7 separate regions of the Homo sapiens genome follow, and regions 2, 3, 4, 5, 6 and 7 are each linked to region 1. The links are contacts of gene promoters, found by promoter capture Hi-C in blood cells and fetal thymus (Javierre and others, 2016). All regions are on one chromosome and are shown on one strand. The core of a region is centred on a gene start or on the middle of the fragment in contact, and the rest is flanking DNA. Distances in the headings are between cores, read along the strand shown.

Region 1 (3,230 bases), core at 343-2,842:
TTTCATCTCTTTGATCTTGGCTCTCTGGATTGCCTGGCGCACGAGGCGGCGTGGGGAGTGGGTTGCAGCCCCCACAGTCCGGACCCCTAGGGTGGGTCTGGCCCCCTCCTGAGCCTGCGAGAGTGAAGGCCTAGCCCTGCGAGTCCTGGAGCTCGGTCCAGGCTTCGTCTCCCTCCGCCCCCAGCAGGCGCCGCTCGGACACCGCTGACACCACTGTCTGGATCGGCGAACCCCAAAGTCGAGGAACCGCCGGTGCAGCCGCCCTTCACCTCGGGGACCTGCCCGGGGACCAGGGGGACGTCTGGGCATCCACCCTCAGGAAGCGGGCAGCGCAGATCACACCTCGGATCCTTCGTAGCACTCCCAAACCCAAAGCCACCAGCCCTTCTCCACCGCGAGGCTGCTCCCGGCAGCCACAGGTCACAGCAGCGAGCGGCTGCACAGACTATCGAGCGAACAGCGGAGGCTGGAGGCAGGGGCGGGGATGCTGGGTGTGGGTGGATGGGTAGGAGGGGAGGCCTCAGACCCTCCCTGTGCACCACCCCCCGGTGGGTCCGCGGCTGCACCCGCGACCTTGGCTCCAGGCCCGCGCAGCGAAGCACCCCCAGCCCCAGCGGCTGGCCGAGCAGCCAGGGGCGGGCTCCCGTACGTGGCCAAGCCGGGCAATTGCTCTCCCCGGGCGAGCAACCCGGCATCCAGCGCTCGCCCACCCCACTCCCTCGCCCCGGGGAGGCCATCGCCTGCCCGGCAGGGGCCCTGCCCTTCCCCGCAGACACCGAGCAGGGAACCAGGAGCTCGGTCTGGGAAGCTCAGCGTAGCCGAGCGTGGAGCCCGGCACGGAATGTCGCTCCCCTCCCAAGCCGGCGCAGGGCAGCCACAGCAGACGGGGGGAGGGGAGCGCCCCTCCCACTTCACCTTGGGCTCTTCTCTGCCTCCCCAGGTCGTCCCCACCTTCCCCCATTCGGAAGCCACAAGTCTCGGAGAGACTGCCCCACCCCCAAAAGAGCCCCAAAACTTGGGAGATGGGGTGTCTTGAAACTCCCTGGAGAGGGCTCTGCCACGGCTAAGCCGGGTGTCCAGGAGGTCACCGTGAGGCCGGCCAGCTCCCGCCGCCCCTCCCCCGCCCACTCTCCCAGCCCCCTCCCTGTCCCCACGTGGGGGTCCCTCCTTACCTTGGGCTCTGGCCGCGCGGATCTGATGCAGAGCTAGCAGTGTCCAGATCAAAAGCCCCCACATGGTGACCAGCCTGGAGAGGGGTCCTCGGGGTCTCCCTTCCCTCCGCCCTGTTTTATAATCCTGGTGGGGTCCGATACCCCGTGGCTTAGTCCCAGGAAACAGTCAGTCTACGCGGCTCCGTGCCCCGGGGTGTAATATGCCCGGGAGGGGCAGCGCTTGGCTACCCCAACCCTTCCTCCTCTTCTGTACTAGTCCGAGCCCGGCAGCGCGCCCGGAAGGCGAGGGGCGAGCAGGGAGAAAGAGGCCAGGCCGCCCTCTCGGACTAGGGCGCCTCTCTCCCTTAGCACCCCAACTCCGACTTCTCCCAAACAGGGCGGCCTCTGCGATCCGGCCGGGTCGCCGGCCGAGCTCCGGAATAAATGGACAACTTCAGGAAACTTCCTCCCGTGGCCACGTTGCCCGCCCCCTCCCCGCCCCCTGGTTGGGTTCTCCCGGCCGACGCAGTCACCGCCGTTCCAGGCGCCGGGCCCCCGGGACCCGGCCAGAGCCGAGCGCAGTGGCAGACGCGGGTGCGGGGGTTCTTTTAGGGGCGCCGGTTTCGGGGGACGCGGTGAGCATAGCGGTCCGAATCTCCCTGGAGCTGAAGTTTTCTTCTCTCTAACTTTGCAGGCAGCATCTGGCGGGGCCGAACCACCCCCTCTGGGCTCCACCGCCCTCGCGCCGAATCGGGAGACGCCGGGTCTCCTCCGGGGGCGCTGGGGCCGGGCGCGCCCTCGGCTCCGCGCCCAGCCGGCTAGCAAACTTTGCGGGTCCCGGAGCCGGGCGCGCAGCCCTGAGCGCCCATGTCCGCGCCAGCCGCGGGGCGGCGGGGGAGGGTGCTGGGCTTCGCGACGCGGGCTGTCGCCGGCGCCCGGGCGCAGAGCCTCCTGCCGGCCCGAGGATGGAGACCGGCGGCTCTGCCCTCCGCCGCGCCCCGGCCGGAGCTCTCGGGAAGACGCACGGAGAGCCCGGCGGGCAGCCCCGGCTCCGGGGACGCGGCGCCCCTTCGGACGCCCGGCGATCGCCGACCTCCCGGGCCGGAGGAGCAACGGCCGCCCCAGCGCCTCGGCCGCCGCTGCCGCTCGCCGAGCCCGCCGCCCTCCGCTTCCCGGGCTCGGCGTCCAGAGAGCCGCTCCTGCCTGCGCCGAGCCGGAGCTGCGGGGGCAGCGTGAGCCGGGGACGAGCGCGGCGGAGGCGGAGACGCGGAGAGGGGGGCCGAGCGCTACCCCGTGGCCGCGACTGGAGAGCAGCCTGCGCGCCGGGAGGGGCGGCGGCGGCGGCGGCGGCCCCGAGCCAGGCCCGGGAGCGAGCCCCGCAGAAATACAATCCGACTGCGCGGCCGCGGGCGCCCAGCGGCTCTGGGACCCGCAGGGGGGCAGCAGTGCCAACCTTCTGCCGCGCCGGGAGAGATGCGCGCGAGCCCCTCCGCTCTCTGCCCAGCCTTTCCTTCCAGCCTCGCTCGCGCCCCTGTCTCAAAGGCCTCATAGGACTCCCAGAGTCTCCTATAGTCGGGAGCCCCCAGCCCCCTTCCGGACATGGAGTGATTGGTGGGGAGGCGGCGGTTGGGAAAAGGGGGTCGGTCAACCGATTGATTCCAGTTTCCCCTTCCCAAGTCAGGCTCTCCAAGGTCTGGAAATGCTCAGGGCGGAGGGGGAGACATCGGGAGGCCTGGGACCTGCAGAAGCCTGAGAAAGTGAAGTTGGTGCCAAGGAGCGTGCGTTCTTTGTTTCTTCTTTTTTCCTTCGGAGCCCAGCTTGTAAAGAGTAGAAGAACCGGACATTGGTGGAGGAATTCAAACAAGAGAGCCCGGAGGCGTCCTCTGCTGTGGCCCAGAGCTAGCGCCTACTCCACGAAGCTCAGCTGGGGTTAACAGGCTTCTGTTAAAATTTCCCGGGCACTGGGAAAATTTCAGGTGCCTTCGCCTCGGTGGACTCCTTTCCCTGCTAACAAAATTATTAAAAATAAGATTTTGCAACTGCGTTGGCATAAGGAAAAGTATATTAATATTGCATATT
Region 2 (3,230 bases), core at 321-2,820, 240 kb after region 1:
CCCTTTGACCCCAGAGCGCCTTCTGATGCCTTTTCTCTAAGAGGCCCTGTCCCCGGGGTGCACCACTGCATGATAACTGGCTTTGTATAGGTTGGCTTTTAGACGCTCTGTGTGCTTCACACTCATCATCCTTTTCCGTAGAGTTAGAATGAAATGCAATCAGCTGGCTGGATATCCATTGCTCTTGGAATAAATTTCAAATTCCCTAAAGTGACCTACAAAGCTATGCATGATGTGTCTGTCCAGCTCCATTACATGACCCCTCCCTCTGGCTCACTATTTCCATTCATACCTGTTTCCTTTCTGCTCCTTGAACACACCAAGACCCTTTCTCCTTTTTACTATGTACTTGCCATTCTACCTGCCTGGAATGATTTAACTCCAGCTCTTGTCATGCATGATGGTTCATTGTCATTCTTCAGGTCTTAACTCCAAAGTCCCCTCTTCAGAGATGTCTTCCTTCCCTACCCTATCAATGAAGTCTCTCTCTGCGCTTCTAGGTCAGTGTCCTGCTATACCTCTGACTCTTTATTTCACAGCATTCATAACCATTTGTAGTTATATTGTTGGTTGAGTGTTGGTGGCGGTAGTAATGGTGGTGGCGGTGGTTGTGTGTGGGGGAGGGGTGTGATCTGTCTTCCCCACTAGGAAGCATATTCTTTGAAGTCAGGAACCAAGTCTGTATTTGTGCAGTAAAGGATCAACTTTACCCAAAGAAAGGTTTGGGTCTTTGGCCCTGGCTCCTGGGAGGGAACCTCTATGTCCTTGGAATGCCCTGTTTGATAAGAGCATCTTTGTTTACCTGGGGTCTTGGGCCACCCTAAATTTTCTATGCTAACAATATGATTTGTGGTAGGTTGGGGGGGTGGTCTTGGACCACTTGGTATAAGCTTGACTTCTGGAAGGCCTAGAGACTAAGGTCAACCTGGCAGGCAGTCAATCGTGTCTATGTGACTGAGCCCCAATAGAATCTCTGGACACCAAGATTTGGGTGAGCATCTCTGGTTGGCCAGACTCTGTGTGTGTTATCGCACATCATTGCTGGAAGAAACAGGTGCTGTCCAAAGTTCCACTGGGAAAGGACAACAGAAGTTCATGCCTGGTCTCTCCTGGACCCTGCCCCATGTACCGCTTCCCTTGACTGATTTCCATCTGTATCCTTTCACCGTAATAAATCACAACCATAAGTATAATGCCTTTGCTGAGTTCTGAGTCCTTCCAGTGAATCATTGAACCTGAGGCTGGTCTTGGATAACCCCCAAACTTTTCCATTGGTGTCAGAAGGGAAGTGGTCTTGGGAACCCACGACCTTTTCAGTGTTATTTACCACTATCTTCTTAGTGCATAGAACCACAAGTGGTATGCAGTAAGTGCTCATGAAGTATGTATTGATAATGAAGGTTCCTCTTGACACAAAGACCTTCCAAATGCAGCCAGTAGGGCTGGGACATGTTCTCAACCACCTGCAGCTTCCTCATACCACCTCATTGAGTTTAGCCCCACCAGGTGTCTTCTAGTTCCCAGAAAGTGCTGAGCTCCCTCAAGCCTCTGGACTCTTCTAGAAGTTGTGTGTGTTGTCTGGGGATTCCTTCATCCACCACCTCCCTGATTCCTCATTGTCCTTCCGGATGCAGCTAATCTTATCACCTCCCCTGGGGAAAATTCCATAGGCCCCGAGTTTCCAAGCCTACCTGAGCTTACCCATGGCATGCTGTTATAATCTCTGCTGTAACACATGGCATCTGGGTTATAATGGAAAGGAGTCTGAGCCTTCTCTTCCTAGAGCTATGTCGCATTTGCAGAGGATCTTCTGCTTAGATACCTCTTCTCTGTGGCAGGTGGACTCTAAGATGGTCTAAGCTGATCCCCACCTCGTGGCACTCACGTTTGTGTCATCTTCTCTCTTTGAATGTGGGCCAGACTGGCAACTTGTTCTAACCAAAGGAATATGGCTAACATAATAAATGTCACTTGAGCTCTTTTAAATCCAGGAACTGTGTGTTTTATCTGTAGGTCTTTACTAGCAGGTGCTGTGCCGATTGCATAGCAGCAAATATCTGCATCAACAAACGGATCAACCCCTCAACAAGGAGAGGTGGAAGGAAGGTTAGGAACATGGTGGAAAATTGTTTTAAAATGATGGTTGTGTAGCAGATCTTAGCATCATTTTCAGAAACAAGATTCTATCTACTCATTCTGATATCTACACAAAAGGATAGGAGATAAAACTATCAGGAGGTCATCCTCTCAATAAGCTTCTTTGGAGTAGAAGTGAGCTGCCCTGCCCATAGGTAGGAAACCCATGCCTCTAAGCTTTGCAGAATGTTCACCTAATCTTAGATTTGGGTCATAGGCACTGGAGCTGGCTACCCTCTTCTCTGTGGCAGGCTGACTCTAAGGTGGTCTAAGATGATCCTTACTTCCTGGTATTCACATTCTTGTGTAATCTCCTCTCCTTGAACATGGTCTTGCCTGGTGACTTGTTCTAATCACAGGAATATGGCAAAAATAATGATTGTCACTTCTGAGATAAGTTTTAAAAGATTGTAACTTCTCTCTTGCTAGTGGACTTTCTCTCTTGCTGGCTTCTTTGGTGCGACAAGGAACTGAGAGAAGCCTCCAGCCTACAGCCAGCTGGGAACGAAAGCCCTGAGCCCAACAACTGTCAAGGAACTGAATTTTGCCAACAGCCACAAAAGTGAACTTGGAAGTGAAGCCTTTTCCAGTCAAGCCTTCACAAATGGCACAGTGCCCACTCTCCAGCCCTGGCTAACACCTCGATTGCAGCCTGAGAGACAGTCCAAAGCAGAGGGCCCAGCCAGGCCACACCCAGAGGCCCCACCCACAAAGACTGAGATCACAAATGTGATCGCCTTAAGCTGTGAAGTTTTGGAGTGATTTGGGGTGATTTGTTAAACGCGGTAGATAACTAACATGCTCTCCCAAGCGCTCATCAACACCAGATCATACCTGACTCTGCTGTTAGCAGCACAGTAAGACAGTCAAGCCATAGACGCCAGAGCCATATGGCCTGGATTCAAATCTCAGGGCCTCTACTTTGTGCCTGTGTGACCTTAGGCAAGTTACTTAGCATCAGCTCTCTCATCAAGGACATAGGAATATTACCTACCTCTTAGGACTGTCATGAGGATTAGATTAGATCCTACATGTACAATGCTTAGAGCAGTGATAATATTTGTAACATTCATCCTGTCCATTATATCATATAA
Region 3 (3,230 bases), core at 379-2,878, 220 kb before region 1:
TCAGGGCGGTTTGCATGAAGGTACATTAGGAAGGTGAGTCAGTGTGATGCGGTGCAGCCGCAGGGCAGGAGAAGTTGCAGGGTAGCTTCCCCTACACTTTCAGCCTCTCTGTTGTTGGGATTGTGTATCTCCAGATGCACTGGGGCTATGTCTGTTCATTCCCTGTCCTCCCTCCAGTGGTCCAAACGTGGCATGGCACACGGTAGCTGCTCAGTAAACAGTGAGTATGTAAATCCCCCTGTAACTGCTCTCCACACGGGCTGCCACCTGCCACTGCTCCCTCCCGTGAGATTGTTTGACCCCAGTGGTGCTACCTTAGTACAAGCCAGAGAGACCCAAGCTCATTGCAACTGTGGCAAAACCACCATGATTGATTTAAGCCCCAGGCGTCTTTCAAAGAGCCAAGTGCAAGGCTTTGCGCACGTGATTTGTATCACGGTTGTTCTGACCTCTCCCATGACATCTTTCTTGCTAGAGGTGGCTGCTTGTTCTACGGAGCTGGAGAGGATAGAATTCTCCTTCTACATAGATGGGTATCACCGTGTGATGTTTTTATATGAAGCATCTGCAGCTTTTATTCAATTTCCATCTTTTTTTTTTTTTTTTTTTTTTGAGACAGTCTTGCTCTGTCATCCAGGCTGGATCTCGACTCACTGCAACCTCTGCCTCCCTGATTCAAGGGATTCTTGTGCCTCAGCCTCCCGAGTAGCTGGGATTACAGGCGCCCACCACCACACCCAGCTAATTTTCATATTTTAGTAGAGACTGGGTTTTGCTATGTTGGCCAGGCTGGTTTCGAACTCCTGACCTCAGGTGATCCGCCCGCCTCAGCCTCCTGACGTGCTGGGATTACAGGTGTGAGCCACCGTGCCCAGCAATTTCCATCATTTTATAAAAGCTTTGCGGGAACCCTAGCAGGGCCTGGCGTCGTGCAAGACATGGATATGGAGATCTGTGTAGATCCTGTATCTCTGGAATTTTGCATCCATTTAACAATGACAGCAGCCCATGCGGATGTGGAGTGGAAGGAGGTGAGCCTTTTTGCTTGCACAGCTCCCAGTAACTGGGATGACTACATTTGGTTGGTGCTCACCGCGTTCCCCAGTGCCCTACTCAGAGCACCCCATTTAACCTTTGCAACATCCTGGTGAGGCACTCATCAGGATTGCTCTCCCCTTCTACAGAGGCGGAAGCCTAGAGGGGGCCAGGAGGAGCTGAGCCAGAATCTGCCACATCGGTTTCGGCTGCAGCCCCTGCCTGTTGGAGTCCTGGCGACGCCCCTGTAGAGCGCCAGTGCCCTCACCTCTCGGTGTCTTTGCTGAACTGTCCTTTCCCCACGTCGTTGACGGCACAAAGACGGAACTGGTAGGAGCGTGCAGGAACCAGGCCCTTGACTGTCACTGAGGTAGCTTTGGGGTCCACACTGGCCAGGAGTACAGTCCAGGGGGCATCTGCAGGGACAGTGAGTGGGGCAGAAGTGGGTATCTTGGGTGGGATGAAGCATGCTTCTTACTCCCCACTCCCAGCAGGGTCCAGCTTCACTGGGGCTGGCAAGAGAGAGCCTCCCCAGCTTGGTGCAGGAGTGGCCCGCCATGCCATTTTTCTAGGTCCCATTAGCTCACACGACCCTGGGGAGGAGACGGTGGAGGGTGCCGGAGGAAAGTAAGGGCTTATGGGAACTGAGATGCATTTGTCTCCCCCACTACCCCCCACAAATTGATGAGCTCTAGGCAAGCTGTGTTTAAAATGCCATTCAGGCTGGGTGTGGTGGCTCATGTCTGTAATCCCAGCACTTTGGGAGGCTGAGGCGGGCAGATCACCTGAGGTCAGGGGTTTGAGACCAGCCTGACCAATATGGTGAAATCCCATCTCTACTAAAAATACAAAATTAGCTGGGCATGGTGATGTATGCCTGTAATCCCAACTACTTCGGAGGCTGAGACAGGAGAATCACCTGAACCCGGGAGGCAGAGGTTGCAGTGAGCCGAGATGGCACCATTGCACTCCAGCCTGGGTGACAAGTGTGAAACTCCGTCTCAAAAATGAATAAATAAATAAATAATAAATAAATAAAATGCAATGCGAATTATGCCTGCTCATTTGACTTGGGGAATACATAAATAAATAAATAATAAATAAATACTGGCCATTTTCTTTGCAGCTTCTGCTGTGCCAGGCCCTGAGTTAAGCACCTTTTGTGCGTCATCTCTTTCAACTGTAACAGGGCCTGACAGGCAGATGCCTGTGTTTCCTTCAGAGATGGGAACGCTGAGGCTGCCAGAGGGAAGGATCTGCTCAAAGGCCCAGAACTAGGAAGCAGGAGAGCTGGGACCCCAGCCCAGGGCTGACTCCTAAGTCCAAGCTTGGGCGGGAGGTGTTGGAGGTGACCACGGGAAGCTTACTGTTCTCCGACATCTCCAGAATGTAGCGGATCAGGGGGCTGTTGCCATCAAAGGGCTTGGTCCACGTCAGGTTGATGGCTCGCCTTTCCACGGTGCTGAGAGTGGCCACTGGGTGCTCGGGCGCGTGGGGCAGTTGCCTGGAAAAGAGACACGTGGTCAGGCATCCCTATGTGGTCTGCAGGCAGGTGACGGGGGCGCTGTGGACACAGGTTGTGTAGGCCTTGACCTTCCATGATACCGCATGCTTAGACGTAAAATGTGGCCTTCGGGCCATCTACCTGGAGATTTTTCTCTCTGGAACCAGAGCCCTCCTGCTAAAGCCATCCTCACACCCCCCTGCTCTTGACGGAGGGCCTAACTGAGCTGAGAGAAAGGCCTGGAAGGATGCTGGGGGTATGTCCTGAGCAAAGCTGAACAGTTCAGGTCACACGTGGCCTGGGGATCTGAAAAAAGGGACTCGGCTGGCTCTGAGCATGCCAGTTGCTATTGCCTGGACCGCCTCTGCCGGGGTCTGGGAGGGCTGCCCTTACCTGACTCGCAGGTGGGCACTGCGAGAGTCGTTGCCTCCTGCTGAGATCACCCGGCAGGTGTACGTGCCGATGTCTCCCGACCACGTCTGTGAGATGTGCAGGGAGCCGTTTCTGTCCAGGCGGATACGAGGATGGCTCTCCGTGCCCAGGGTGGCCCCGTCCTTCTCCCAGATGTACCTAAAAGTAAGAAGAACCCGTAAGTACAGAGGGAGAGGAAGGTACCTTGGGAGTGGGCCTAGCCTGAAGCTTGTCCCGAGAAAATAGCTCCAAAGCTGGGCAGAGGACAACTGCAGGCAAC
Region 4 (3,230 bases), core at 218-2,717, 200 kb after region 1:
TGAACCCATCGGAACTGGCTCTGGACATAAATGGCAGGTGAGAACTGCCTTGCGTATGTCCCAACTCCAGTGACAATACTAGAGCACAAAGAAGATGGCTATTTTGGGCCATCCAGAATCCACCTCCCCTCTGTATGTTTGGAAAAAGTCCCCGATATAGAATCTAAGCATGCCAGTGACGCACTCTGCCAGCCTGCATTGCTTGTGACCAGGCTTGACAACCGGATGTGCCCTTCCTGGACCTTTTGTCTGGAGCTGGCCACACAGATGCAGGATACACAGATGCAAGATAGACAGATGCAGGACGAATGGAGAACCTGTGGTCGTGGTTACTAACAGCCTCTATCCAGTTCCCAGGGGACAGTGGCCTCGTAGTGGCTGCAGTGGCATCCTGTATCCAGGACCCACAAAATGGGGCCCCTGGTGCTCCATGGAGGTGGTGGAGGGTCCTCACCAGACCATGCCTAGGCTGTGACTTTGGCTGTGGTCCTGTATACATTGTCACAAAGCCAAGCTGATATGGTTAGGCTTTGTGTCCATACTCAAATCTCATCTTGAATTATAATTCCCATAATCCCCATGTGTTAAGGGAGAGACCAGGTATAGGTGATTGGATCATGGGGCCAGTTTCCGCCATGCTGTTCTCATGATAGTGAGTTCTCACGAGATGTGCTGGTTTTACAAGTGTTTGGTAGTTCCGCCTGTGTTCATTTTCCCTCCTGCCGCCTTCTGAAAAAGGTGCCATGCTTCCCCTTCAACTTCCGCCATGACTGTAAATTTTCTGCGTCTTTCCCAGCCATGCTGAACTGTGAGTCAATTAAATATTTTTCCTTTATAAATCTCAGGTAAGTCTTTTTTTTTTTTTTTTTGGACAGAGTCTTGCTCTGTTGCCCAGGCTGGCGTGCAGTGGCATGATCTTGGCTCACTGCAACCTCCGCCTCCCAGGTTCAAACAATTCTCCTGCTTCAGCTTCCCGAGTAGCTGGGACTACAGGCACACACCACCGGGCCCGGCTAATTTTTGTATTTTTAGTAGAGATGGAGATTTCACTATGTTGGCCAGGCTGGTCTCAAACTCCTGACCTCAAGTGATCCAGCCCACCTCAGCCTCCCAAAGTGCTGGGATTACAGGTGTAAGCCACCTCATCCAGCCTCAGGTATGTCTTTATGGCAGTGTGAAAACAGACTAAGACACAAGCCCTCCCAGAAATTCTGCAACCTCCTGATACCCTTTCAGCAAATTTCTCTGCTGCTTCAATTAGCCAGAATCAGTTTCTATTGCTTGGATCTAGAACCCTAATTGCAGCAGCCAACTCTGGGCTAGGAACTCCACAGTCTACTCACATCATCTCCTTTAGCCCTACCCAGGCCTTGAGGAAGGTGGCTTTATCTCAGCAAAACTGAGGCTCAGAGAGGTTGAGTAATTTTTCCCCAGATCACAGAGCTTTTGGTGGAGCTAGGATTCAAACCCAAGTCTTACTGACCTCAAAGACATGGAATCCTCAGCCACTAAGATCCCCAACTCCTTTTCTGCCCCCACTGCTTTAATTATACCAATAAGCAAGGGAAAAGCAGAAACAAGCCCACCACGCAGGGACCAGCCTGGGAGCCAAATTGCTTCTGAGCTGAATGTTTCTCTCCCAGTCTTCAGTGAGGTGGTGGCAGCTCTTTAACTCCAGCTGCGGCGAGAACACAGTGCTCATATATATTCACAAGCGGGAGATGAAAAGCTGCACAATGCCCGGCCATTAATCCTAACTCAGGCCTTCCAAGCGGCGTGTGATGATCTGCCTGAAGCAGCGCCACATTCGTGCTCGGGAGCTGGGAATGCACCCCAAATCCACCGCCAGGGGCACACAGTCCAGGCTCCCCCACCACACTTTACCGTCCACCCTCATGCCCTAATGGCCTCATCAATGTTTCGTGGCCGCCTCAGTGCTCCTGACAGATAAATTAATGAGTTGGCCCTGAGCTATAGGAAGCACACCCCAAGAGAAGACAGAACTTAAGGAATTTAAGCCCCACTGCGCCTCTTGTGCCCAAGGTGGGAGAGTTGAAAGCTGGTTTCCTGGCGAGGGTGAGTGGAGATGGTCATTTTTCTGGCATTGATTCGTGGGTTTTCATTTCCCAGGAGCAGCCTGGAGCAAAGGAGAACGTGCAAGATGAATCTGGAAGGCCTCCCCCAACACGGCATGAAGAGGACCCGAGCCAGCCAGTCTGTGGATGGGCAGGAGACACAGGGAGCCCTGCTCAGGAGCCCGTGTGAGCACAGAAGGGGCAGCCAGGCTCCAGGTTTGTTAGTTGTCCAGACACCTGGAGCCTATGGGAGGCACAGAAGCTGGGAAGCTGGAGGTCCGTGTCTGGCTACACACGGCTGGGACTAAAGGATTGAGGTTAGTGCTTCCAAACGCACTTGGTGTTCTAGGCATGGGCTTCCAGACCTGGACCTGGCTCCCTGGCAAGGCCTCCCCTCTGTCCTTCTCTCCACCCACCTCTGTCCCCTCCCTGCTCAGTGCTCGACACCCACCATGTCACCCAGCCCCTTACTTACTTCTGACCTCTGACCCTCCTCACTGCCATTGACTGCAGCTCATTATTGTCCTTCCATCAGGTGCCTCCTCTCTGGACATGGGAGGCCACACAGTTCTGCTCTCGGGACTCAGATGCCACCCAGCACCCCCTGAGCATGTCCTGCAGCCTGGCCTCCTTCGCTGCTTCCTGGCAGCCAACCAATGCAGAGCGAGCTTTGGAACCTGGCCTGGGCATACATTTGGTCTCTACTACCCTGCAGTGGTGAGCCCTGGGCAGGTCATTTAAACTCTGAGCCTCTGCTTCGTGTGCAGTGTAGTGCAGTGGGTGGGACCCACCTTGCAGAGTTGTGATGAGGTTGAATGAAACTGCATTCAAGGGAGAGATTATTTCCCTCCCCACTCCATGTATAACTACAACTGATTCCTAAAGAGTGGACTCATTCCCTGGAGGCCTCTGTGTTCTGAGTACTTTGATGAGTCTGGAGACACAGAAATGTGCCTGGGGTTAGTGTGAGTGCCTGAGAACACTGAATGAACTTCTTTGCACAAAAGAAGGAAAATGAACAACAGAGGAAAATTCACAGCTCTGAGGTCGGAGGGGGGAAGGGAACATGAAGAGATGGGAGGATGACTAAGAAAAGAAGGCCGGGCGCGGTGGCTCACGCCTGTAATCCCAGCACTTTGGGAGGCCGAGGCGGGC
Region 5 (3,230 bases), core at 384-2,883, 200 kb before region 1:
GAATGCCAAGCATTGCTGGCCACCACCGGAAGCCAGGAAGGGGCAAGAAATGAGACTCCTCTAGAATCTTCAGAGAAGTATAGCCCTGCTGACACCTTGATTTTCAGACTTCTGGCCTCCAGAACTGTGAAAGGCTCAATTTCTGTTGTGAGCCACTCAGCTGGTAGTACTTTGTTGTGCAGGCCATAAGAGACTAAAATTCTCCCTGACCAGGAACCTCATGGGTCTTTGCTGTGGACTGAGCTGTGTCCCCCACCCATTCATATGTTGAGCCTTAACCTCCAAAGTGATGGCATTTGGAGGAGTCCCTTGGGAGGTGATTAGGATTAGATGAGGCCACGAGGGCCGGGCCTCATGAGGGCCAATGAGGGTCCCAAGGAAAAAGAAAAATGTTCTCTTAACATATTGTCAACTTTTGCTTAGAAAAGCATGTAATACTTTAATTCTCTCATTGAATGAAATGAAAGAGTTAAGGATGAAACTCTCAGAAAGCAGGTTTCCAGGTACTTGTTAGGTGTGTATATTTCCATATTTCAGATTCATGTCCTTATAAAAAGAGGAAGAGGCCAGAGCTGGCTCTCTCTCCGCCATGTGAGGACACGGCTGGAAGGCAGACATCTGCAAGCTGAGAAGAGAAGCTGACCATACTGGCTTCCCAATCTGGGACTTCCAGCCTCCAGGATGGTGGGAGCCAGAACATTTGCTTTGTAAGCCCCCAGCTGTGGTGCTTTGTTATGGCACCAAGAGCTGACTCATGCAGTCTTTTTTTTTTTTGGACGGAGTCTGGCTCTGTTGCCCAGGCTGGAGTGCAGTGGCACGATCTCGGCTCACCACAACCTCTGCCTCCCAGGTTCAAGTGATTCTCCTGCCTCAGCCTCCCAAGTAGCTGGGATGACAGGTGCCACCACCACGTCCGGCTAATTTTTGTATTTTTAGTAGAGACGGGGTTTCACTATGTTGGCCAGGCTGGTCTTGAACTTCTGACCTCAGATGATCCACCCGCCTCGGCCTCCCAAAGTGCTGGGATTATGGGTGTGAGCCACCACGCCTGGCCAACTCCTGCGGTCTTGACGACCACCTCTCCTCCAGCACGAAGAAGGATGCCTGGCACACAGTAAGTGCTCAAATACGTGTGTTAAGTGAACAAATGAATGGATCTAGAGTTACCATCATCCAACTCCCAGGGTCGATGATTGAAATGAACAAGAACTTCCTGTAAGTGGGTTTTATTGGAAAAAAAAAAAGAGAGAGAAACACTCCAAACTCCTCTTCTAATAGAGGTGGTAGCAATTCCTTTTTTTTATATTTTGAGTTTTTTTTTTTAAAGTAGAGGCCAGATTTTCATCTTGATGGGTCAGTGTAGGCCCGATATTGGCATAAACTCCAATATTCTGTGTATGCCTGATCCATGGCTCCTGAAAATACAACCTCTGAGGACTTTTTCTCCACAACAAATCTATCCAGTTGGCCCCTTTCCAGAAGGTTCTGGAGGTAGTAGGCCATGATGACATGCTGGGCCCTGCGGTGACAGTGACAGGCTGTTCTTTATGGGGTTAGGGGCAGGGTGCACAGTGGCCCCACTGCCCCTCTGGGCCACCTTGTCAGCCCTGGGCAGGTTTTCCTTCCTTGACTCCAGGCCTTGCTAGAAAAGGCCCAGGAAGAATGCGCATAAAATGTAAAAAATAAAGTAAAATGAAGGGGGAAAGAAAGGAAGCATATAAAGCAAAATAATTGCAACAATATAAAAGCCTCATGTAGGTGCCATAACGAGCGATCGGATTGAAAGCTGCTGATATAGCTGAATCCATAAAAGTGTGCTCTAAGTTGTTTATTACATGCGGGGGCGCGCAGGTACCACGGCTCAGATTAATGGGGCACAAGTAAGAGACAGACAGTTAGAGCCCAAGCCAGAGCGCCGCATGGCACAGCCAGGTAAACAGGGAGACCTCAAGGAAGGCGAGTTCTGAGTTTAAAAATACGAGGGCTGCCCCAGGGCTCAGGGCTGGCTCGTTGGCTCTGGAAGGAATGGAGGAGAGATGGCCATGTGCTCAGGCCCAGGTGGCAGCCTGCAGGGCTCGATGGGGGCTGAGGTGGCCAGGGATGCTGGCACAGTGAGAAAGGGTCCCAGGGGTGAGGAAGACCTGGGCTCAAAGCCTAGCTCTGCCCCCAGGTATCCTGGTGACTTCATCCTACTGAGTTTCAGTCTTCTCAGGGGGGAAATGGGGATGAAAGTCACTACCTCTCAGGGTTGTATGAATTCAGGCCCCAGCTCAACAAATCTTTCCTAGGTGAATGCTTGACACGTGCCAGGCTGTGTTCCAGGCACCAGAGATTCTCCACCAAGCGAGATGGCCAGGGTCTGTCCTCATGGAGGGTGATGTCCCAGAGGAAGTCGAACCAATGCTCGTGGGGTTAATGAATGAAAGAGCGTGTGATGGTTGCCGGGAAGGGGGCAGCTAAGCTGGTCTGGGGTGACTGCAGAGTGCCTGGTACACAGTAGGTGCTCAATAAATGACAGCCTCCCCTCCTGGAGATTTGCCTGCCTGTGCAGGGAAGAGCTCTCCCTGCTAGCCCTAGTCCAAGTGACAGACTCAGAGGCTATGGAGAGGTGGGAGTCGCAGGCTCGGGGACGCACATTAAGCCCTGCAGGGTACCGGGCAAGGCCTCAGGCATTTCATGGCGTGGCTCCCTGGGAGACAGCGGGAGTTGAGTGGGTCTCAGAGAAGTGAGTCCTGGAGCAGATTTACTGTTAATGAAGGTCACCCCAGCACAAGTGGGTTATTGGGGTAAATGGGGCTCCAAAGGCCAGACCATGAAAATCACAGGTGAGCCCGAGCAAAGAGGAGGGGTGTCTTCCCGGTGAGCTCCTGGCATAGGGTGGGCCCTGGGGTGGGAGGAAGTGTACGGGGCTCCCCACACGGGGGGCCTCACTGGATCTCACTGCCCCAGACGCTTTGCGTAACAGCCAGGACAAGGGACATCTAACGTGATCCATCCTCCCTGAATCACCTCATTGAATCCTCCCATTTTTGCCATAGGCACCAATTTACAGATGGGGAAACTGAGGCTCAGAGACCATGTGACCCACCTGTGCCACCTCATTTAGTCCTCCCAACTTTGCCATAGGCACCAGTTTACAGATGGGGAAACTGAGGCTCAGGGACCATGGGACTCGCCTGGGCCACAGGTCGGTGAGCGGTGGGGCAGGGGTGTGAGCTGCTCCCCTCTCT
Region 6 (3,230 bases), core at 213-2,712, 180 kb after region 1:
TTTCTCCATCACTTTATACCAAATAGAATGAAGAAAGTGAGGCAGGATGAGTGGATTTACGGCCTCAAATGAATTTCAAGATGAATAAGAACAGTCGCAATTAAAATCAAATTTCTGAGACAGGATTTGATCTCTTTCAAGGAGAGAGCGGGCCTGGCCTTGCCCACAGCCACAGATGCCCCTTAATGGGGTTTGAGATGCTAGGATGTGGGACTCGGGAGGAAACACCTGGGGAACGCCGCACCTTTGAAGCTCATTTTGTCAAGGTTCTTTCACGGCGGTATCACCGGAGACCAAATACCATTTTTAATTACTCACGAAAGCACGAGATGGTTGCCTCTTCTCAGGCACACTCCTCGCTCTTCACTTCAATCCTTTTTTTTTCTTTCTTTGAGACGGAGTCACTCTGTCGTCCAGGCTGGAGTGCAGTCGCGCCATCCCGGCTCACTGCAACCTCCGCCTCCCAGGTTCAAGTGATTCTCCTGCCTCAGCCTCCCAAGTAGCTGGGATTATAGGCACGCGCCACCACGCGCTGCTAATTTTGTATTTTTGATGGAGACGGGGTTTCACTATCTTAGCCAGGCTTGTCTCGAACTCCCGATCTCAGGTGATCTGCCTGCCTCAGCCTCCCAAAGTGCTGGGATTACAGGTGTGAGCCACTGCGCCTGGCTCTTCACTTCAGTCTTATCTTCAGGCTGTCTCTGTCTCCTTGGCTGGGGGAAAGACGCCAGTCAGCTATTTTTTCTGTGGCCCAGGTGAGGATAAATGAGGGCTCCAGGGGGTCAGGGATTTGCTCAGAGTTGGTTAGAAAAAAGCTTAATAGCTGCTGATACTGAGCACCTGCCAGGGGCTTGACACACTTTTTCTTTCATCTCGTGACTCCCGAGGTAGGTATGGTTAGTTTTATTTTGTGGGTGAGAAAACAGGCTCAGAAAGGTTATGAAACTGGCTCAGGGTCACATAGCGGGTGGCTGAAATTTAAATCTGGGTCTTCTGACCCAAAGCCTGGTGGTTTCCCATCTGCCCTCTTGATGCAGGAGTCCAAAGAGGAGGCCAGGGGGCATGCTCAGAAGCTGCGAAGGGGAGCTAGACCTGCCTCCATCAAGGAGTCCAGGTGTCTGGGATCCACCTGTCTACCTCCCTCCCAACCTTATGGAATATTCCTCAGAGTCTCCCCCTACCCAAATTTGGTAGGGTTTCTCTTCGTTCAGAAGCTCTGGCCTTCTTCTTCAGCTATTTCCTTATTTTGGTGGTGTCTGAGTGAACCCAGGACAAGACCTGCCAAGGAATTTTCTATGTCAGTCTGAAAGAAAAGCTCACCTCCTCCATCGCTTGCAGCAGGGGTTCCAGCTGGAGTCTGCAAAGCCAGGGCGATTCTCCCTTCCCCATAAGGGACATCTGGATATGTCTGGACACATTTCTGATTGTCACATCTGGGAGGGTGGGTGCTGATGACGTCTGGTGGGTAAATGCCAGGAGTGGTGTTAAACATCCGGCAAGGCCCGGGACAGCCCCCGCCACAAAGAATAATTCAGCTCAAAGTGTCACCACTGCTGTGGTTGAGAAACCTGCTGTGAAAAATGCCAGGAGGGAGGAGAAAGGAGCCCCTTAACTTCAGTGCCTTATGTCCATGGGACACTGACACCCCCAGGCAGAAGCAGCCACTTCACTTGGCAGGGCGGCACAAAATGAAAATGTTGCAATTCTTGTGAAAAATGATTTAAAATTTCAAGACAGCAACAGCAGACCATTAAACAAGGGCCTGTGGGACTGGCCAGGACACCCACCTAGGAAGCTGGAAAGAGCTCTCTGCTGGTCCCTGGGATCCCCTGGGTGCCCTGTCCTCAGCTCTCAGGCTTGTAGTCACACGACTCCTCCAAAGAGTTCAGGCCAGAACACTGAGACGGCAGTGCCTGCTGAGAATCTGAAGTGGCAGACTCACCTTTCCTTTATGGAGGAAAAAATCTCACTTTTGACTGTCAGGGAATGAAGGGACAGGACTCAGAGGACTGTCTAGGAGGTCCTGAGTCCTCCCCCGTCCTACTGCTTCTTGGGAGGGTCAATATGCCACGAGGGTTTTCAAGCACAAAGTAATTAAGAGGAGGAGCAGAAAGCTTCCAGTCTCCAAGCTGGTAGCCCCCAGGGCTGAATCTGTGGTTTTCTGTTTGCTGTGACACTTCATCTGTAGAGGGCCGCTCTGGGAAAGAGCGGTGCATACTGGGCTCCATCTGAGGAACAGATCCTGGAAATGACCTTCTCTCCTTGTCTCTCCCTGTCTCTCCCACACCCCCTCAATAAGCAGCCTCCTGCCATTTATTTCAATGATATTGCTTTTGTTTTGTTTCATTTTTCTTAAGCATTTTATTTTTATTTTTATTTTTGAGAGGGAGTCTTCCTCCGTCACCCAGGCTGGAGTGCAGTGGCATGATTTTGGCTCACTGCAACTCTGCCTCCCAGGTTCAAGCGATTCTCCTGCCTCAGCCTCTGGAGCAGCTGAGATTACAGGCACACACCACCACACCTGGATAATTTTTGTATTTTAGTAGAGACCCGTTTTTGTCATGTTGGCCAGGCTGGTCTCGAACTCCTGGCTTTAAGTGATCTGCCCGCCTCGGCCTCCCAAAGTGCTGGGATTACAGGCGTGAGCCACTGTGCCCAGCCTTGAGCATTTTACAGTTAGATTGTTCTTCAGGGTTGAGGGTGTTTTTGCAAACCATCTCACATGCCTTTGAGAAGATCGGAGGGAGGGCTGCAGGGGTGTGAGTGGTAGCCCAGGTGGACAGGAGCAGCCACGAGGGGCCCACCGTGAATCAGATCGTCTGTGGAACAGGAGAGAAGGGCCCTGCCACCTGCTCAGGCAGCCCCCACAGCAGATAGTTGTAGATTTCCAGAGCTTCAGCTTCCCTTTCAAGAGTGGAGGGGAAAAAAAGCAAGAGGAAGGCCTGGGGGCTAGGGCAACCCACCCACCAGACAATGATCACAGACCAGCCACCATCAGCCACAAATTCTGCAGCTCAGGTCTAATAGTAATCACTGGTGCTGTAAACATTTAAGCACCTACTGCCTTCTGGTACGCATATGGGCATCAGCATGGTAAGTAGCGAAGAGCATGGATGGACCCTTGAACCAGACTCCAGCTTGAATTCCAACTGCCACTTAATGGCTGTATAACCTTAATCTCTCTGTGACTTAGTTTCCTTGTGTATAAAGTGTGGGACCTACCTCATCGG
Region 7 (3,230 bases), core at 184-2,683, 130 kb before region 1:
ATATCCTGTTGGCAGCTGCCAGTGGCTCCCCTCAGCCTTAGTACTAGGATGGTGCAGTAAACAACCTGTGCAACTGTACACAACAGCCCTGTTAGCCACCCTCTCTGTGGAAAAGGAGATAATTGAGAAGGAAGGAGAATTGTGGATAGAAAGAATCAACGTTATAAAGATGTCATTCTCTTAAACTTTTCTTCACCTCAAACACACACACATACACACACACACACACACACACATACACATACGAAGGAATTTTTTTAAGTAGGCAAAGTGATTCTACAGTTCACATCAAAACAACAACCATGAAAGAATAGCCAAACAAATTCTGAAAAAGTATAGCAAACAGAGGAAACTAGCATAGACATTTAACTACATTACAAAGCTGCAATAATGAAAACAGTGCCTTCTTGTAAAATAGACTGATGAAGAAATAGTCCGGGAGTCTAGAAATAGACCCAAATACATACGAGGAAATTTAATGTATGATGAAAGTAGAATTTCAAATCAGTGGGTAATACACCAATTAGTCAATAAATGGTTTTGAAACAGCTAGGGAACCATTTGGGGATAAAAAAATAAAGATGAATCTCTTTCTGGCACTTTTACCTCAAAATAAATGCTGGATGGATCAATGTTTTAAACATGAAAAATGAAATTCTAAAAGACCTAGAAAAAAAATCAGAGATTTAAAAATATACTGTCTTGGCAAAGCAATGTACTCGCCAAGTACTTTCTAAGTACTATGCAAGCTCCAAAAGGTCATAAAACAGATTGATACCTTCAACTACACAGAAATTCTGCCTGGAAAAAAAAAAACCCTCATAAACAAAAAGAAGTGACAAATGACAAACTGGGGAAAGATATTTGCAACTGTTATCACGGGCAAAGAGCTAATTTTCCTGATATAGAAATGTTCCCACAAATCAGTAAGAAAAAGATTAACAAACCAATAGAAAAATGGGCAAAGGATATGAAGTTCGCAGAAGAGAATTACAAATGCCCCTGGAACTCACACAAAGATGCTCAGCCTCATGATAAGAAAAAGGAAAACTAAAATTCAATAAGATACCATTTTTTCCCTTATCACACTGGCCAAGATGTAAAAGTGTGATATTCTGGGCTGGTGAATTTGTAGAGCAACAGGCACCCTCGCAGACAGCTTTGCGGGACTGTAGCTTGGTACGCCCTCTACGAGAGCAATTTGGCAATGCTATCAAAGCTAAAAATGCACACATCCTCCAATTCGCCAACTCTTCAAGGAATTCACCCTCCACAGACTCACTTGTGCATGTGTGAAATGACAGTACTTCAGAGCCGCTCAGCTTATAACAGCAAAAGCTTGGAAATGGCCTGAATGCCTATCAAGAGGGCACTGCTTAAAGAAACGATTGTCCCTCCAAACAACAGAATTCTGTGCAGCAGACGGCGCCTGAGCGATCTTTGAGAACTACTGGTAAGTGACAAAAACAAGAATAGGGTGGATAAGCTCAGGCATGGAATAGGGTGGATAATCTGCTACTGTTTACGTAGAAGCTTTTCTTCTTCAAGTATAAAAATCAATTTGCTTGTATTGGCACAGGCTTTTTCTAGTGGCTCCATGAAAAATGGATCCCAGTGACACTTGAGGGAGGTCTGGGTGCCCGGGGACTTGGGTTGGGGGACTAGCTTTTCACTCTATACCTTTGTGTAACATTGATATTGTGGACCACAGGTATGAATTACTTATCTATGATCAGATATATGTATACATGTGCATACGTGTATGTGAGTGTGCATGGTAAGCTGTTCACAGGGTGATCCCATTGATGACAGGGAAGAGGACAGACCCTCTGTGTGTCATTTAGGCATGTCACGTGGCTCGGAGGTCCCGGACCAGCAGAGCCTGAGCTGCTTAAATGAAGAGCGGCCTTCAGAGGCCAGCAAGAGGCCTCAGCCCGGGGCTTCCTTGTAATTTCCCATAACAGGTCAGGGGATCGCTGACTGCCATCTTCCCTTGATATTCGCACTAAATACCCCCATTGTCCTCCCTAGGCTCCAGGCTAAATGGCCCCATACAGAAGCCAATCTCAACTTCAACTTTTCCCCTTCTCTGCAAAATAATGTCATCTTTCTCTGGAGTCCCCAGGCTGTGTCCATCTCACTGTTCAGGGGATTTGACTTCCCAGCCAGCCCAGCCCTGGGAACCGCACCTCCTGTGGAGCCATTCTGCTGGGAATGGGTCGGTGGGTGGAGGAAGGGGGTGATGGCTTCTGCCAGCCACCTAATTGGCCAAATGATGTCCATCTGCCCTCCAGAATAAGCTGCAGGGAGTACCAAGCCTGGACAAACTCCCTTCCCAGCTCTGAAACATGCAGAAACCTCTCTCTTTTTGCGGCTTCTTCTCAGGCATAGAATAAGGGCTCAGTCATCACGAGCTTCCCTGGAATGCTTGGAAACAGGGTGGGAGCTGGGATTTCTAGACTCGCAAACTTTTCTCCCACCATCTCCTAGTCTTGGCCCCACCACCGTGTCCTGGACTGATTACCACGGCCTCTTAATGGGTGCCAGGGGTGGAAACCTGTGCTCCTTACCCCTGGTGGACCACACACCTGAGCAGGATGGACCCGGGGTCAGAGGGAGCAGGGGCTCAGGGTGGGCTGCTCTCACCAAACCTCACTTCTCTCCAAACTTCTAGTCTTGCTGCTGCCTTTATTCCATACTAACCATGGAACTTTCTATCCATGAAGCACTTTACATTCATCATCTTAGTTAAGAGGCCTGAGTTCATCTCAAGGAAACCACTATCATTTTCCCCATTTTAATAGGAGAAAACCAACGCTCAGAAAGGTTCTGTAACTGGACTCTGCCACATAGACATAAGCCAAGATCTGGCAGGTTCCAGAGCTCTGGATCTTTCTATTATTAGCATAAGACTTCCCAAAGCTGTCTCACCCTTCATACCCCAACCTGTAGCACCAGGGGTGGTGAGAGGGACGGGGGACATTCAAGGAGGTTGGTGGCCTCTCTCAGGGAACTGGTTTTGACTCCACAAGCAAAGGTCACGCAGCATTCATACTCCAGCCTGCGATGTCACAGCCCCAGAGCCAGATTCTGGGATGAGGGCGAAACAGGCGGCCCAGCTGGGAATGAGTCCTGCGAATTAGCTAGAAGGATAAGGAGGCAGAATATCCCAGAAGAGACTGGTCCGCCCAGGGGGTGAGGGTTTCAGGTGGATGAGCTAAGAAAGGGCA

What was found. Contacts are between HindIII fragments. The CHiCAGO score rates a contact against its expected background, and 5 or more counts as called.
Region 2: a fragment that was not itself captured here is called in contact with the fragment with the promoter of SDK2 in region 1 in 1 of 17 cell types (M2 macrophages); the score reaches 5.9 in M2 macrophages.
Region 3: a fragment that was not itself captured here is called in contact with the fragment with the promoter of SDK2 in region 1 in 5 of 17 cell types (naive CD4 T cells, naive CD8 T cells, total B cells and 2 more); the score reaches 7.3 in naive CD4 T cells.
Region 4: a contact is called between a fragment that was not itself captured here and the fragment with the promoter of SDK2 in region 1, in 1 of 17 cell types (naive CD4 T cells). The highest score is 5.2, in naive CD4 T cells.
Region 5: a fragment that was not itself captured here is called in contact with the fragment with the promoter of SDK2 in region 1 in 4 of 17 cell types (naive B cells, total B cells, naive CD8 T cells and 1 more); the score reaches 7.3 in naive B cells.
Region 6: a contact is called between a fragment that was not itself captured here and the fragment with the promoter of SDK2 in region 1, in 1 of 17 cell types (naive CD4 T cells). The highest score is 5.5, in naive CD4 T cells.
Region 7: a contact is called between a fragment that was not itself captured here and the fragment with the promoter of SDK2 in region 1, in 1 of 17 cell types (naive B cells). The highest score is 5.1, in naive B cells.

What each region holds. Positions count from the first base shown.
Region 1 is chr17:73,642,853-73,646,082 of GRCh38, forward strand. It overlaps SDK2 (sidekick cell adhesion molecule 2), which reads right to left and starts at 1,593. Exons shown (of 45, transcript NM_001144952.2): 1 at 1,173-1,593. The coding sequence starts at 1,236. It overlaps LOC124904054 (a long non-coding RNA gene), which reads left to right and starts at 2,622. Exons shown (of 2, transcript XR_007065893.1): 1 at 2,622-2,842; 2 at 2,969-3,230. The HindIII fragment of the contact is 5,171 bases long and covers 1-3,230 here.
Region 2 is chr17:73,886,302-73,889,531 of GRCh38, forward strand. No RefSeq gene overlaps it. Among named protein-coding and RNA genes, the nearest start is that of LINC00469, 59 kb to the left of the region's middle. The HindIII fragment of the contact is 1,365 bases long and covers 889-2,253 here.
Region 3 is chr17:73,420,984-73,424,213 of GRCh38, forward strand. SDK2 (sidekick cell adhesion molecule 2) reads right to left here. Exons shown (of 45, transcript NM_001144952.2): 13 at 2,933-3,109; 14 at 2,403-2,539; 15 at 1,304-1,451. Among named protein-coding and RNA genes, the nearest start is that of SDK2-AS1, 91 kb to the right of the region's middle. The HindIII fragment of the contact is 1,464 bases long and covers 897-2,360 here.
Region 4 is chr17:73,846,439-73,849,668 of GRCh38, forward strand. No RefSeq gene overlaps it. Among named protein-coding and RNA genes, the nearest start is that of LINC00469, 20 kb to the left of the region's middle. The HindIII fragment of the contact is 7,751 bases long and covers 1-3,230 here.
Region 5 is chr17:73,441,587-73,444,816 of GRCh38, forward strand. The region is part of intron 5 of SDK2 (sidekick cell adhesion molecule 2); the gene reads right to left. Among named protein-coding and RNA genes, the nearest start is that of SDK2-AS1, 70 kb to the right of the region's middle. The HindIII fragment of the contact is 8,005 bases long and covers 1-3,230 here.
Region 6 is chr17:73,822,368-73,825,597 of GRCh38, forward strand. LINC00469 (long intergenic non-protein coding RNA 469) reads right to left here. Exons shown (of 4, transcript NR_027146.1): 2 at 1,321-1,458. Among named protein-coding and RNA genes, the nearest start is that of LINC00469, 4.6 kb to the right of the region's middle. The HindIII fragment of the contact is 1,299 bases long and covers 814-2,112 here.
Region 7 is chr17:73,512,338-73,515,567 of GRCh38, forward strand. All of the region lies in intron 1 of SDK2 (sidekick cell adhesion molecule 2), which reads right to left. SDK2-AS1 (SDK2 antisense RNA 1) reads left to right here and starts at 1,346. Exons shown (of 2, transcript NR_135635.1): 1 at 1,346-1,453. The HindIII fragment of the contact is 195 bases long and covers 1,337-1,531 here.